3 separate regions of the Homo sapiens genome follow, and regions 1 and 2 are each linked to region 3. Evidence: promoter capture Hi-C in human tissues and cell types (Jung and others, 2019). All regions are on one chromosome and are shown on one strand. Each heading gives the region's core, a stretch centred on a gene start or on the middle of the fragment in contact. The rest is flanking DNA. Distances are from core to core; before and after follow the strand shown.

The links. Contacts are between HindIII fragments. The study calls those that stand out against the background at their distance.
Region 1: the fragment with the promoter of CDC7 here is called in contact with the fragment with the promoter of RPL5 in region 3 in 1 of the 25 tissues and cell types used here (lymphoblastoid cells).
Region 2: a fragment that was not itself captured here is called in contact with the fragment with the promoter of RPL5 in region 3 in 1 of the 25 tissues and cell types used here (aorta).

The regions. Positions count from the first base shown.
Region 1 is chr1:91,498,122-91,502,537 of GRCh38, reverse strand. CDC7 (cell division cycle 7) reads right to left here and starts at 1,687. Exons shown (of 12, transcript NM_003503.4): 1 at 1,590-1,687; 2 at 707-884. The coding sequence starts at 821. LOC105378856 (a long non-coding RNA gene) reads left to right here and starts at 1,690. Exons shown (of 3, transcript XR_947599.4): 1 at 1,690-4,023. RefSeq lists an enhancer at 846-1,045. The HindIII fragment of the contact is 7,471 bases long and covers 1-4,416 here.
Region 2 is chr1:91,817,327-91,821,939 of GRCh38, reverse strand. The region is part of intron 2 of TGFBR3 (transforming growth factor beta receptor 3); the gene reads left to right. Among named protein-coding and RNA genes, the nearest start is that of TGFBR3, 67 kb to the left of the region's middle. The HindIII fragment of the contact is 7,778 bases long and covers 1-4,613 here.
Region 3 is chr1:92,829,004-92,833,289 of GRCh38, reverse strand. RPL5 (ribosomal protein L5) reads right to left here and starts at 1,250. Exons shown (of 8, transcript NM_000969.5): 1 at 1,173-1,250. The coding sequence starts at 1,175. It also overlaps a transcript of DIPK1A not described here. RefSeq lists enhancers at 172-809, 962-1,281, 810-1,448, 1,452-1,501. The HindIII fragment of the contact is 19,619 bases long and covers 1-4,286 here.

The sequences.
Region 1 (4,416 bases), core at 438-2,937, 1.3 Mb after region 3:
GTCAAAATAAGTATCTTTTAGACAAGCACAGAATTCACTTAAGACAAAGATGGGAAAGATGATCTGGCTACCCTTTCAGAAAAAAAAAAATACAGTCAACTAGAATTCCTCTATTTAACAAATATTTATTATTAACAAATACCTACTATGTCCCAGGTCCTGTGCCAGAGCAGAAATGAAGGTACACATGCGAGTGTACAAGAGCAGGCACTGCTTGACCCTGTCTTATTCACCCTAAGGTCTGGTTTACGGTCAAAGAACATTTCATGCTGTACACTGAGATATGGTGCTTTATTATTGCTACAAACATTTCATATTTTTTTGTCTGTGAGTTCTGCTTTTGAATACTTAAGTGATGATCTCCAGTGTCAATTTCTACATTTAAGCTTAAGGCAATGTGGTGAGTAGAGATAAGAACACAGATACAAAAGAGAAATTTAATTTGGGCATCATCAAATTTCTGCATTCTTAATTACCAATACTGAGACCATAGCAACTTCAACCGTAAAACAGGTTGTATTACAGTCTTCCAAATCGCAATTCAGTCCTACATTTAGATCATACGAAGCTCTGTTTTAACACTGTCCTATAGAAACATACAATTCACTTTATAAGATTCAATCTTATTTTTTGAGAGGAATTGAAAACACAGAATTGTTGCCTGAAAAATCTTTATAACTGTACATCTTTGGATTTAAACACGTACCTGCAAGTTTAAAATTCTGCTCGTTTTTTTTTAAAGAGCCTTCAGCCTGAAACCGGTCACGCTGGGGAGAAAAAGCCATTGGCTCATCCATCTGAATCCCCAAAGACGCCTCCATCACAAGCCAATTGAGATGCAAAATGCCAGCTAAGGGGTTACATCCACAGGGGGAGCAAAGCAGCTGTGAAAATTAGAACACTAGAGAAATTTAGATCACTCGCTAAACCACGCACTAAAAACATGCTACTGCCCCCCAAAGGGGCAAACATTTTCAAACGCACGATGTGTCCAAACCTCCACAGTAGGGCATACTGTGGCCTTGTCTAAGGAATTCCATGTGCTTTATTTTCACCTATCAGAAACACCGGCAGGGGGCTGCAGGGAGAATTTCCCGGCTTGGGCACCCGCGCAGCAGCAGGCGCAGTGGGAAACGGCGAGGCTGCCAGTCCGGCACAGCCAGCGGGACCGCGTGGGGGAGGGGCCGAGCGCCGGGGGCGGTTTGAAGTCAGGAAAAGAACTGAGGGAGAAAACCTTTTCGCCACTGACAGGAAGCGCCAGGAGGCTCGTCCAAGGCCCCAAGCAAGTTGACGGAGAACTGATACGACCCTGGCCACGAGTACTGGGCGGAGGAGGAGAAGGGTGAATGAATGGGAATCCGCCGGCCAGCGCTGGCCGCGAGCTCAGCCGGGAAGGACCGGCTTCCCTCGGGCCAGAGACCGAACCAGATGCTTAGTGCGCAGGCGCGCGACTTTCCCGCCGCAGGTCGGAGGGATCCGAAGGGGGGCGGGAAAAGGAACTGCACGGCGAGAAAACCGAAGTCACGATCCAGAATTCGTTCCTAATCCCTCACAATCCCGCGCCATGGAACAAACCGTCGGAAACTCACGGTTTAAGGGAGTACGACTTCTGTGGCTCCCCAGATGCCTGGGTCGCCGTCTCCAAGAGATCCCCACCTACCGAGTCGATCGGATGCGCCTGCGCAACACTTCCCGCCGCCGCTCTGGTTGCACATGCGCACACTAAAGCCCTCGACCCCGCGGATTCCGCTACTGGGCGTTTGCGCAAGAGGGTGGGGTTTCTTCCCGCCGCCTTGGCCAGCTAGAAGAGCGGTTACGGGAATGAAGCCCGTGGATGATCTTAAAAAACAGGGTGAACCATAAGGCTAAGGGCCCAGCATGATTTCCAGGAAAGAAGCTAGCTCAGAGAAGGAAAAATCTCAGGTGCTGACACATCCCTATATACGTGGCCGGCCGCACAACACATTGGGCACTCCATGGATAAAAGGCACTTTCTTGACTCTGCTTTTATTTCCTTTTCGTTGAGTGCCCTACTTCCCCGTTAAAAACAAGCAGAAAATGTAATTGCTGATTGTTTGTGGCTGTGTTAGTAGAAATTAGCACAGTGGCAGGAAGGCAGTGTATACTATTTACTGAGCCCTTGGCTATGAGGTAGGTGGGTTTTTCTAGGGGCTGGAATCATAGTGAGCAAGATAAACACCATCCCTGTAGGAAGCTAAATTCCAATGAAGCGATGACAATAACGGATGAATAAATGAACAGTATTCTTTCCGGCATTGATTACTACTTGAGGGAAATACTGACCAGGAAGGTGGCATCTAGATGGTCAGGGAAGCCCTCTCAAAGAGACCTGGATGAGAAAGAGCTGGTAGGGAGACTGTTGTCCTGGCAAAGAAAGGATAGGGCAAATGCAGAGAGAAAGAGGAACTTGGTATGTTGCAGGGGCAGGGCAGGAAAGGCCAGTGTGGGGGAAGCATAGTGAGTGAGCCGCAAGATAGTCCCAGATAGATGAAGGTGGAGAGTTAGGCAGAAGCCAGACCAGGGTCCTTGAAAGCCAGGGTAAGAAGTTTAGTGTTTGTTCTGAGTACAATTGGAAGCTATTTGAAAGTTTTAAAGCAAGGGAGTAATATGATCTATCTGTTATGAAGAGAATGGATTGTAGAGGGGCAAGTGTGGAAGCAGAGGAAATAGGATGCACTTTATGTTTAGGAGAAACATAATGGTAGTTTGGACCAGAACAATGGCGGAAGAAATAAAAGAAAGAAGACAATGGGATTTGGTGATTGGCTATGGAAAATGAAGAAAAGGGCATCATCAACAGTGAATCTTAGGTTTTGGGCTAGCATATGTGTGGGTGGTAGTGCCACATAGAAGGGAAGTCTGTGAGGTAATGGTTTTTGATTGAGTGAGGTGGAAGAGAGTAAATCAAGGATTCTAGTGTGGATACCGAGAAAGAGAAAAGCAGACCTTGACATCCAGGAGATGGCCTGGTACTACCAGCTTGGTTTGCTGTTGCTTTGAGCTGGCCTGGCAATCACAGCCAAGCATTGGTATTCTTCTGTTGAACATAAACAATTTCACAGAACATCAGACAAGACAGAGTTGTGACCGTGATAGATCAAGACAAAAGTAAGATCACTCTATAATCATATGTGAACACAGACACAACATCAACATTGCCCAAGCCATAAAAATGATCAAATATCTCCTTATCCTAGCTAATATGAGTGCCTGCTGCTTCTTTACCAATTATAGTTTTAACCTCAGTCTAGTCTTCCTTCCTTCTACATAATACTTATTAAAATACCCAATTATAGAATTATCCTTGCTTCCTTACAGCTTCCAATCCAGGCCAAAGTCCCTCTTTCTTGCACCCTTCCGTAAATCTCCTAACACAAACTCAAATTCTATAACAAGTCCTTTTTAACACCCTCTTCCTAAGACATCCCATGGTTCCCCATGGTGTGCATTCTCACGTACTGAAACAAGCAATACATCCAAGTTGCTCAGCTATAGTTGTGTTCCTGGTGGTCATTATCGGGAGGTCGTTAACAATAATCAAGTCCAAGATATGCAAGTGATGATGTCAAAGAAACAGATGAATATATTGGTCTGGGGTATAGTTCAGGGTGAAGAAATAAACTTGGCAGTTATGAATTTATAGATGAAACCTAGTCTTGGACTATACGATATTATCTAAGCAAAGATTGTAGATGGAGAGTTGGGCTATGATAACTTCCAACATTTCATAGTTGAGCAGAGGAGGAGGAAGAACCAGCAAGAGACTGAGAAGTAGTAGTCTGTGAGGTAAGAAGGTGATGTCATAGAAGTCAAGAGCAGAAAGTTTTACAATTAGAAGAAAGTGGTCAGCTATAGCAAATGCTTCACAGAAGTAGTGAGGATACAGAATTGATCAGAGATAGTCATTAGAGCCTTCAGAAAGAGCAGCTTTGGAGTGAGACAGAAAGACTATATTGAATTTATTGACGAACAAAAGATCTACAAATGGAGACAACTCTTGAGGTTTGGTTTGTTTCTTAGTTTGGTTTCTTGTCTTTATTGGGGGGTAGGGCGCACAAATAGAATAGTGGCTACAGTGTCAAATTGTTTATAAACTTTATACTAGCCGTGTAACTTGGGCAAGTTATTCAATATCTGTGACACTCCTATTTCAAAAATGTAACATGGATAAAATACTTGCTTGGTTTTGCTATAGGGATTAAATTAGATAAAGTGACATAATACATGTAAAGTGCTTGGTCCCATAGGCCTGGACATTGTTAGCTTGTATTAGTTAATTTATAATGGGTACTTTTTCCCCCTTTGTCAATGATCCCATCCCTAATACCTAGCACATGGCTGTTCACATAGTATGGATTTAATAAATGGCTATGGAATTAATGTACAATGAGAAGT
Region 2 (4,613 bases), core at 1,129-3,628, 1.0 Mb after region 3:
TTTACAGAGGAGAATTGATACTGAAATCTAGAGACTAACCTGGTTAATAATAGTAAAGATAAAAGCTGCCATTTATTGACCATTTAATATGTATCGTATATTTGCATGCATTATGTAATCCTCACAAAGTGTAGATGTCTTCATTTTACAAATGAGAAAACTAAGGCAAAGTTTCAGATGGTATAGACAGAACCAGGATTCAAAGCCAGGTCTTTTCTCTACAGCATCCTACCCAGGCAAGGCCCCAGGTCCGTAGAGTTGCTGACCACAGAGGAGGAGGAAGTTGGGCCACAGCTCTCAGGTCTATGAGAGGGCGTTGTCACTGAAGTGGAGGAAACCAGGATTCTCTGCTTCCTAGAGAGACACTGAGATTGTTCCTTTAAACCACATATGATTTTTAAAATAAGATATGTAGAGCAGAAACCAATCAACTAGCATTGGCTTTGGTCAGAATTATTTTTATGATAAAGTAGAGCATATTTTTAAATTTTTAATTATCTAAGTAATATTCAAAAACACATTTGCACAGTAAAAGCATTAAGAATGTATTAGGTTGGTGCAAAAGTAATTGTGTTTTTTGCCATTACTTTTTTTTTTTTTTTTTTTTTTTTGAGACAGTCTTATCTCTGTCACCCAGTCTGGAGTGCAGTGGCATGATCTCGGCTCACTCCAACTTCTGTCTCCCAGGTTCAAGTGATTCTCATGCCTCAGCCTCCCAAGTAGCTGGGATTATAGGCGTGTGCCACCATACCTGGCTAATGTTTGTATTTTTAGTAGAGGCAGGGTTTCACCATGTTGGCCAGGTTGCTCTCGAACCCCTGACCTTGGGTGATCTGCCTGCCTCAGTCTCCCAAGTGCTGGGATTACAGTCATGAGCCACTGTGCCCGGCCATTACTATTACTTTTAATGGAAAAAACTGCAATTACTTTTGTGTCAACCTCATAGAAGGATGGAGAGCAAAGTCAGAGTTCCTCTCGTGTCTCCAACCCGTCTCTAGCATCACCCCTACCTTAGGTAAGAACCATTTATAGTTAGAGTTATCCATTTAATCCTTTTTCTATGCATGTATGTGCATGCATATGGACAAATACACATAGTTTTAGAAGGTTAATAAATTGTATCATTCTTTACATACAAAAAGAACATGTCATAAGATATTTCTGTCTGTACAAATAACAGTGTTTTAAATGCAGCATATGTATTTCATGATATAGATACACCCTTTTTGATGAACATTTAGGTTATTATTATTTTAGACGGAGTCTCGCTGTGTCACCCAGGCTGGAGTGCAGTGGTGCAATCTCTGCTCACTGCAAGCTCCGCCTCCTGGGTTCACGCCATTCTCCTGCCTCAGCCTCCCGAGTAGCTGGGACTACAGGTGCCCGCCACCCCGCCCAGCTAATTTTTTTGTATTTTTTTAGTACAGACGGGGTTTCAACGTGTTAGCCAGGATGGTCTCGATCTCCTGACCTCATGATCCGCCCGCCTCGGCCTCCCAAAGTGCTGGGATTACAGGTGTGAGCCACCGTGCCCGGCTGGTTATTTTAAAGTATTTGTTTATTATAAATACTGTGGCAGTTAACATCTATGCCTGTAATACTTTATAGTACCATAACAGTGATGTTGTTATGGTGTAGTACAGTAGGTGTATTTACATTGATATCAGTTACAGCCTGGTGTAATTACAGTTATGATGTAATGCCTTTAGAGAGAGGTTGGACAGTTCAGTTGCTGTCCCAAACCTGGCTGAGAAGATTACAAAAGATTTAAAATATTTCTACTGGTCTTTATTATTGAATGACTACACCCTCTGAAAAGTATGAATTGAGCATTATGATTGCTCATAGGTAAAAGGTTAGCAGGCATTTAATATGTGCTAGGTATTTTCTTGTGTATTCTCTCATTTGAGTCTTATAATAATCTCATAAAGAATGTGCTGCTATTCACTGTTTATCTGGAACTAAGACTGAGAAAGACTGTGGCTTGCATAAAGTGACACAGCTTCTAAGAAGCCAGTTCAAGATTTGAACCCTCATCTGATGATCAGTTTGTTTTTTCTTTCCCCATTTTCTGAAGCTGGTTCATTCTCTTAAGAACTGTAAGGAGAAAAATGATAGAAGGCAGAATATCTTTGAACTAATGAAATCATCGCATGAGCAGAGAAGCAGAGTGGGCATCCTGTGGATTTAGGGGAGGGAGGGGGTGGTAAAGCCTCTGAACCTGTCACTGGACTTGGAGGTGTGATTCATGACTTCAGGATAGTGGCTATGCTGAGAGACCTTGGTGTCTGACAGCAACGTCCTGCTATTGTAAGCTATGGATTTACTGTCATGCTAAGAAATAAATCATGACCAGGAAAGGCTGTATGTTTAGGTGCTGCTGATGCCTGTAGGCCCTCTCCAAACAGGAGAATGGCTCTCAGTGGATGAATTGTCTCAGCTTCCTCTGAGTTGTAATTTCTATGTGGGTCAAAGGGTTATTTTTAGCCTGTGGGATCCCTAGCTCTTTGAGGAGTGGCCTCGCTTACAAGGTCAGTGGAGTGGGATGATGGTCGGGATTTTTTTTTTTTCCCAGACGGAGTCTTGCTCTGTCACCCAGGCTGGAATACAGTGGCGCGATCTCAGCTCACTGCAACCCCTGCCTCTCGAGTTCAAGTGATTCTCCTGCCTCAGCCTCCTAGGTAGCTGGGATTACAGGCGCATGCCACCATGCCTGGGTAATTTTTGTATTCTTAGTAGAGACACGGTTTCACCATGTTGGCCAGGCTGGTCTTGAACTCTTAACCTCATGATCCACCTGCCTCGGCCTCCCAAAGTGTTGGGATTACAGGCATGAACCACCACACCTGGCGATGATCAGGATTTAAGGATTGTTTCTGAGCTCTTCCTGGACCCTGTGTTTTAGGTCCCCCAAAGAAGGTGTGAACAGCCTTTTGGAATCTGTTTTACTCTGGCAAAATAATCTGTGTCCATAGATTGCAGGAGGATGCTGTTGGTGTTATAATAATGCTCTCACATTTAAAAATAAGTTATCAAGTGTATTTGAGGAAGAAAACTAAGAAAATCTGGAAAAAACCCCACCATCAACAAAAGACATGCAAAACTCTAAAACTTGTAATAGGATAAATGATGTTCTTGTAATGAATGTGTCAGCATTTTAACACATGTGTGCTCAGTGTGTGGTGATGCAGGATGTGTATAACAGAAAGCACAAACGTGGTCTGTGTTTACATTAAATCTCCCACCTCCAAGACACACACACAAAAGGTCCCACTTGAGTATGTGTAATTACATCTCTGAATACTCCCTTGATCCTATTTTTTTCCTTTTCCCTAAACACATATTTTGGTTACTTCTCCAAAGATACATGATATATATTAGCCTCACTCAGAACCACAGGGAACATACTCAATTGAATCACACCTCTATGAGTAGTGTATAAAGTGTAACATTTTAAAACACCAGGGACCAGGGCTGGCAAGGTCCACGGGGAATCCTGAAGGCTGGTTTCCAGCCACAACTGTGCTGGAATGAAAATAGAAAACAATGAGGCATGTGCAGAGTCAGCTTTTCTTTGTGTCACAGCTCAGCAGTTTTTCTGCTGTCCTAAACTTTCCTAAAAAAAAAAAAAAAAAAAAAAAAAAAAAAAAAAAAAAAAAAAGGCTGGGGCTAAGGGGAAATGGTGCAGTTGCAGTTGAAATTTTTTTTTAATAGTAAAGACTGAAAATATAAACTAACAGCTGGTGCTGTAGGAACATGTGAAATGAAGAGTGAATTAATGGTGAGAAATCTCACTGCTCTTTGCTTGGCTGTGAGGACACGCGTAGGAAGGACTTGTGGAAACTTGTTTGGTAAAATAGAAAAAAAAGGAAAAGAAAAAGCTAAGTAACCATCAAGCCTTTTTCAGGAGTGGGGGAAAAATAAAAATTTATATACTCTAAACTTAAAGCTTTATTTATGATCATTATTTTAAATATCTGTAAATGCATCTGTAAAAAACTCCAGCCAAGACAGAGGGAGATGTGAATTATCAAGTATATTGACTTTTTTTTTTTTTTTCTGTTATCAGTAGCATCCTTCAGAAAGTACTGATTAAAAAGGAAGGCCATTCCCAGTTCTTGGTTTATTTGCCTCATAGCGCACCAAGTCAAGGTTGAGCTGGGGCCTTATTCCAGAAAGCACAGGCTTCCTTTCTGATTGGAAATAATATGTATTTTGTTTGACCTTCAGAATACTCATGGCTTTACTGGAATACATGGGCCAACATTTGTCCTGGCAAGGCCAGGGCAGTTTAAGATAGGTATCCACAGGGATTGCTTTATAGAGCAATTAAAAGCAGTGGGAGGGAGGTGACTGCAGAAATTCAGACGTTTGCATCCTTTCTGGCCTAAAAATCAAGTGAGTAATTTCAAAAAGCAGAATTTGAAAACAAACAAACAAGCACTTCTAGAAGTTTCTGTCTGAACACTTGAGAATTTTGCCAAGGTCATAGTGTTCTTTATTTTTTCTTTTTCCTTACATGTTACTTTCTGAAATATGATCATAGTGTTCTTTTGCAACTGATCTTGGTGTGAAGAGGGGGTTACATCTTATATATTACACAGTGCTAATAT
Region 3 (4,286 bases), core at 1-2,500:
GTAAACAGACAACTGTCACTTGTAGAATCCCAGGTTTCACAAGCAACTAGGGTCAAGAATCTTTTTCCTCTACCTTCCATGTCACAGACTAGTAGTTTCATAAAACAATAAAAATGAATCCTTAGAGAAATATGGAATAAAAGAAACATACAAAATGCAGGCCCCAATTTATTACATTTAACAGGTATAAAATTATTGTTATATTGCTTTCAAAAGGTTTTAAACGCTTTCAATTTCCATATTTGTTTCTTCAAGGACCAGCACCGGTAATTGTGCCAAACTTTTGCGAAGCACTGCTCCAGACAGCAATCAGTGATGCCAAACGTCGGTTTGTTCGGAACACGCTATGTCCCACTTCGAAAACCTAGCCTCAAATAACAACTACGTACCTCTCTCGCTTCCCATGTTATGTTTTTCAAAAGCCTAAATTACCTGCCACAAAGCTTAACTGGGCAAGAGCACATTCAGCAGTAATTCCCCCACTAAAACAGCACTGTTCCCCATCAGCTAAAGCAACATTTCATCCCACCCTTGGGGCCCTACCCCAATAATTAAAAACTCATCCGGCGACGGACTCTAGAGGAAGAGGCAGGAGGCACGTATTCCATGTTAAAGGAGCTTCCGGGGCCCAGGGACCCCTCGGCCTCCAAGCTCCACTGACAATTTTGGCTTAAAAGCCACTTGCTCAGCCCACGGGCACAAGCTTCCTAAATCTAAGACTTGCCGGCTCCGACATTCTCCTGGAAAACCCACGAAGTACTCGGTACTCGGAGGTCGAGTGGGACCCGAGGACCTGCAGCCCCCCTCCATTCTGGCGTTCCCCAGCTAGGCTGAGGTCGACTGCTTGCGACCTCTCACGCCCGGCCGCTTGCCAGCGCCCCCTCACACTAGACGGCAGTATCCGCACTCAGGCTGTCTACTAAACTCACCCTTCTCCCCAATCCGCCGTCCAAGCTCACGCAACCCTTCTTCGCCAACCCCTCCCCCCAAGTTCGCGCACCGGGCGGCAGCCATTTAAGGCCACGCTGGGAACTGCACCTCGACCAAGTCAGAGCTAGCAATCTAACGCCATCCGGCCCCTGCGACGCGCGAGACGGGCCCTAGGCTGGCATACGGGCAAGAAAAGGGAACCTCCATGCATCTAAAGCCCCGAGACCGAGGCATCCACTCACCATCCTGCGGAACAGAGACCGGCGTCCGCTGCTCGACAGAGACCTGCAGGCCCAGCGGCGCTAGGGGGTGGGAAAAGGGCCACAGCCCTTGCGCAGGCGCAGTATGTAGCGCGGACGGTCACGCCAGTGACGTGTGAAAGAGAGAGGGCGTCGGCCACAAGGCGTTTTACGTTCCGCCCCCTGCTGGAAGGAGGGTGAATGCCTGCCCAAGCTCTCCAGGTTCCAATGCTCGGGGTATCTCACAGGATCCGTGCGGTGAGGAGGAGCAGGGAGGATTACTGGAGCCTTTCGCTTTCTTTGCTACAGCGTTTTGTTTTGTTTTGTTTTGTTTTGTTTTGTTTTGTTTTGTTTTGTTTTGTTCATAACGCATTTTGCTTTTCTAAGCAGGAAAAAAAAAAAAAATTAAATAGGACAAGTTTGCTTGGGAGCCCTCTTGCCTTCTCTGGGCTACTCATTCTGGTCCAAGAGCATATGGACCCACCCTCCCATCTCACCCCCAGGAAGCCTTCCCTGAGAGCCCCAAGCCTGGGATAGGGGCCACTCCTCTGCCTTCCTACAGCAGCTTTCTACTGGCTTCAGCCCACCACAGACTGTCAACTTTTCGAGGTGGGCCCTGATGTCCACCTCTGACTCTCCAGCACCTAGCAGGGTATCAGCTGCTCACCGTTAGAGCTGGGAGAAGGGACGGCCAACCAGGATGACAGGGTTAAGTGACTCCAAAACACTGCCACTAGAATAAATCAGGATTAGGATGCCAATTACTTCTGATTCCAACTTGTAATTCCTTATATAATAGGAAAAATAAACAGAGTTCGCTATGGCCGATGTCAACAGAGCTCTAGAGGAGAAAACTTAAAACACTTTTCACAGGAAGTGTGATTCTACTTTTGTGGAGCCACCTTTGAAAGGGTAAAGAAAGAGGTATTCAATTCGTATTTATAGAAAATATTTAAAAACCTTCATTTTGGTGGATTATCAAGTTATTAGCCTACCAAAGGTGCTCCATGTCTTGGTCAGGCCCTGCTTACACTGGAGGCAAAAGCATCAGGAAGGAAAGTCTGCCTGGAAACAGGCCGACTCCTAACTTCTGCATGTTTTAGGGCAAGGGTTCATAGGAAGACCCACATACTATTCATCTGAATATTTAGAAGTTGTGGGCCGGGCACGGTAGCTCAGGCCAGGTGCGGTGGGTCACGCCTGTAATCCCAGCGCTTTGGGAGGCCGAGGCAGGCGGATCGCGAGGTCAAGAGATCGAGACCATCCTGGACAACATGGTGAAACCCCATCTCTGCTAAAAATACAAAAACCAGCCGGGCATGGTGGCACGCACCTGTAGTCCCAGCTACTCGGGAGACTGAGACAGGAGAATCGCTTGAACCCAGGAGGCAGAGGTTGCAGTGAGCCGAGATCACACCACTGCACTCCAGCCTGGCGACAGTGAGACTCCGTCTCAAAAAAAAAAAAAAAGAAAGAAGTCATGAAGCAGGCTGGATGTGCTGGCTCAGGCCTGTAATCCCAGCATTTTGGGAGGCCAAGGCAGGAGGATCACTTAAACCCAGGAGTTCGGGACCAGCCTGGGAGACTTGGTGAGCCCCTGTCTCTATAAAAAATAAAATCCAAAAAAAGAAGTTATGAAACAAACAACATGTTAAATTAAATATACTTTATCATCCTTATCCCTCTCCTTCTTACCTTATAAATCCATAACAAGAAAATTAAAAATATGTATACCTATTCCCCTTGGTCACAGTCAGGGGTCTGTGGCTAGCATGGCTGGTTCAGCCAGTGCAGTTGGTGACACCAGGAGCTAGGGGGTAATTGTCCAGCATCCTCAGCCAACAGCATCTTATTCAAGTGGTAAAAGTTAAAAAACCACCAATAGTGGGATGAATTAACATTATAGGTTCACACCTGTAATCCCAACATTTTGGGAGGCTGAGCCAGGAGGATCACTTCAGCCCAGGAGTTCGAGACCAGCCTGGGCACATAAGAAGACCTCTATCTCTAGGGAAAAAGAAAAAGGAAAGCAAAGAAAAAATAAATTAACATTATATGCCTCCTGATGCACTGAGAAGAACACAAAACACTTCCTACCAAATTTACATAATCTAATCTAAAATAGTTATCTAATATGTACCAACCAAATCTAATCATGATGAAACTACACGTAAATCCAGATTTAGATAATTCTACAAAGTAACTGGCCTGTACTCTTCAAAAATGACAAGATCATGAAAGATAAGGAAAGCCTAAACAATATTCCAGACTGAAAGAGACCAAAGTGACATGACAACTGTATGCAATGTGTGATTCCATATTGCATCCTGGACAAGAAAGGAAAAAGGGAAATAAGAAGTCTTTGTATTTCTTTTGTTCAAAGGACATTGTCAGAACAATCGGTGAAACTTTACTGAAGTCTGGATTAGGTGATAGTAATGAATCAATGTTAAATTCTGATTTTTTTTTGAGATGGAGTTTCGCTCTTGTTGCTGAGGCTGGAGTGCAATGGCGCAATCTCGGCTCACCACAACCTCTGCCTCCTGGGTTCAAGCGATTCTCCTGCCTCAGCCTCCCGAGTAGCTAGGATTACAGGCATGTGCCACTATGCCCGGCTAATTTTGTATTTTTAGTAGAGACGGGGTTTCTCCATATTGATCAGGCTGGTCTCGAACTCCTGACCTCAGATGATCCACCCCCCACCTTGGCCTCCCAAAGTGCTGGGATTACAGGTGTGAGCCACCAAGCCTGGCTAAATTCTGATTTTCATAGGTAGACTGGTTATGAATGAGAGTTCTTTTTTTTTTTTAAGGTAATACACACTGAACTATTTTGGAGTAGTGGGCATTATTTCTGCAACTTGGTCCCAGTAAATGGCTTAGGAAGAAAATTACATGTGTGTATATACATACACATATATGTGCATGTAAAGAGAGAGATTAATAAGGCAAAAATGTGTTAAAATGGTGACAGTGGGGAACTTGGGAGAAGAGTATATGGAAATTCTTTGTACGGTTCTTAACCCAAGCAGTGGTTTTGAAATTATTTCAAAATAAAAAACAAAACATTGGCTGGGTGTCATGGCTCACCCCTGTAATCCCAGGACTTTGGGAAGCC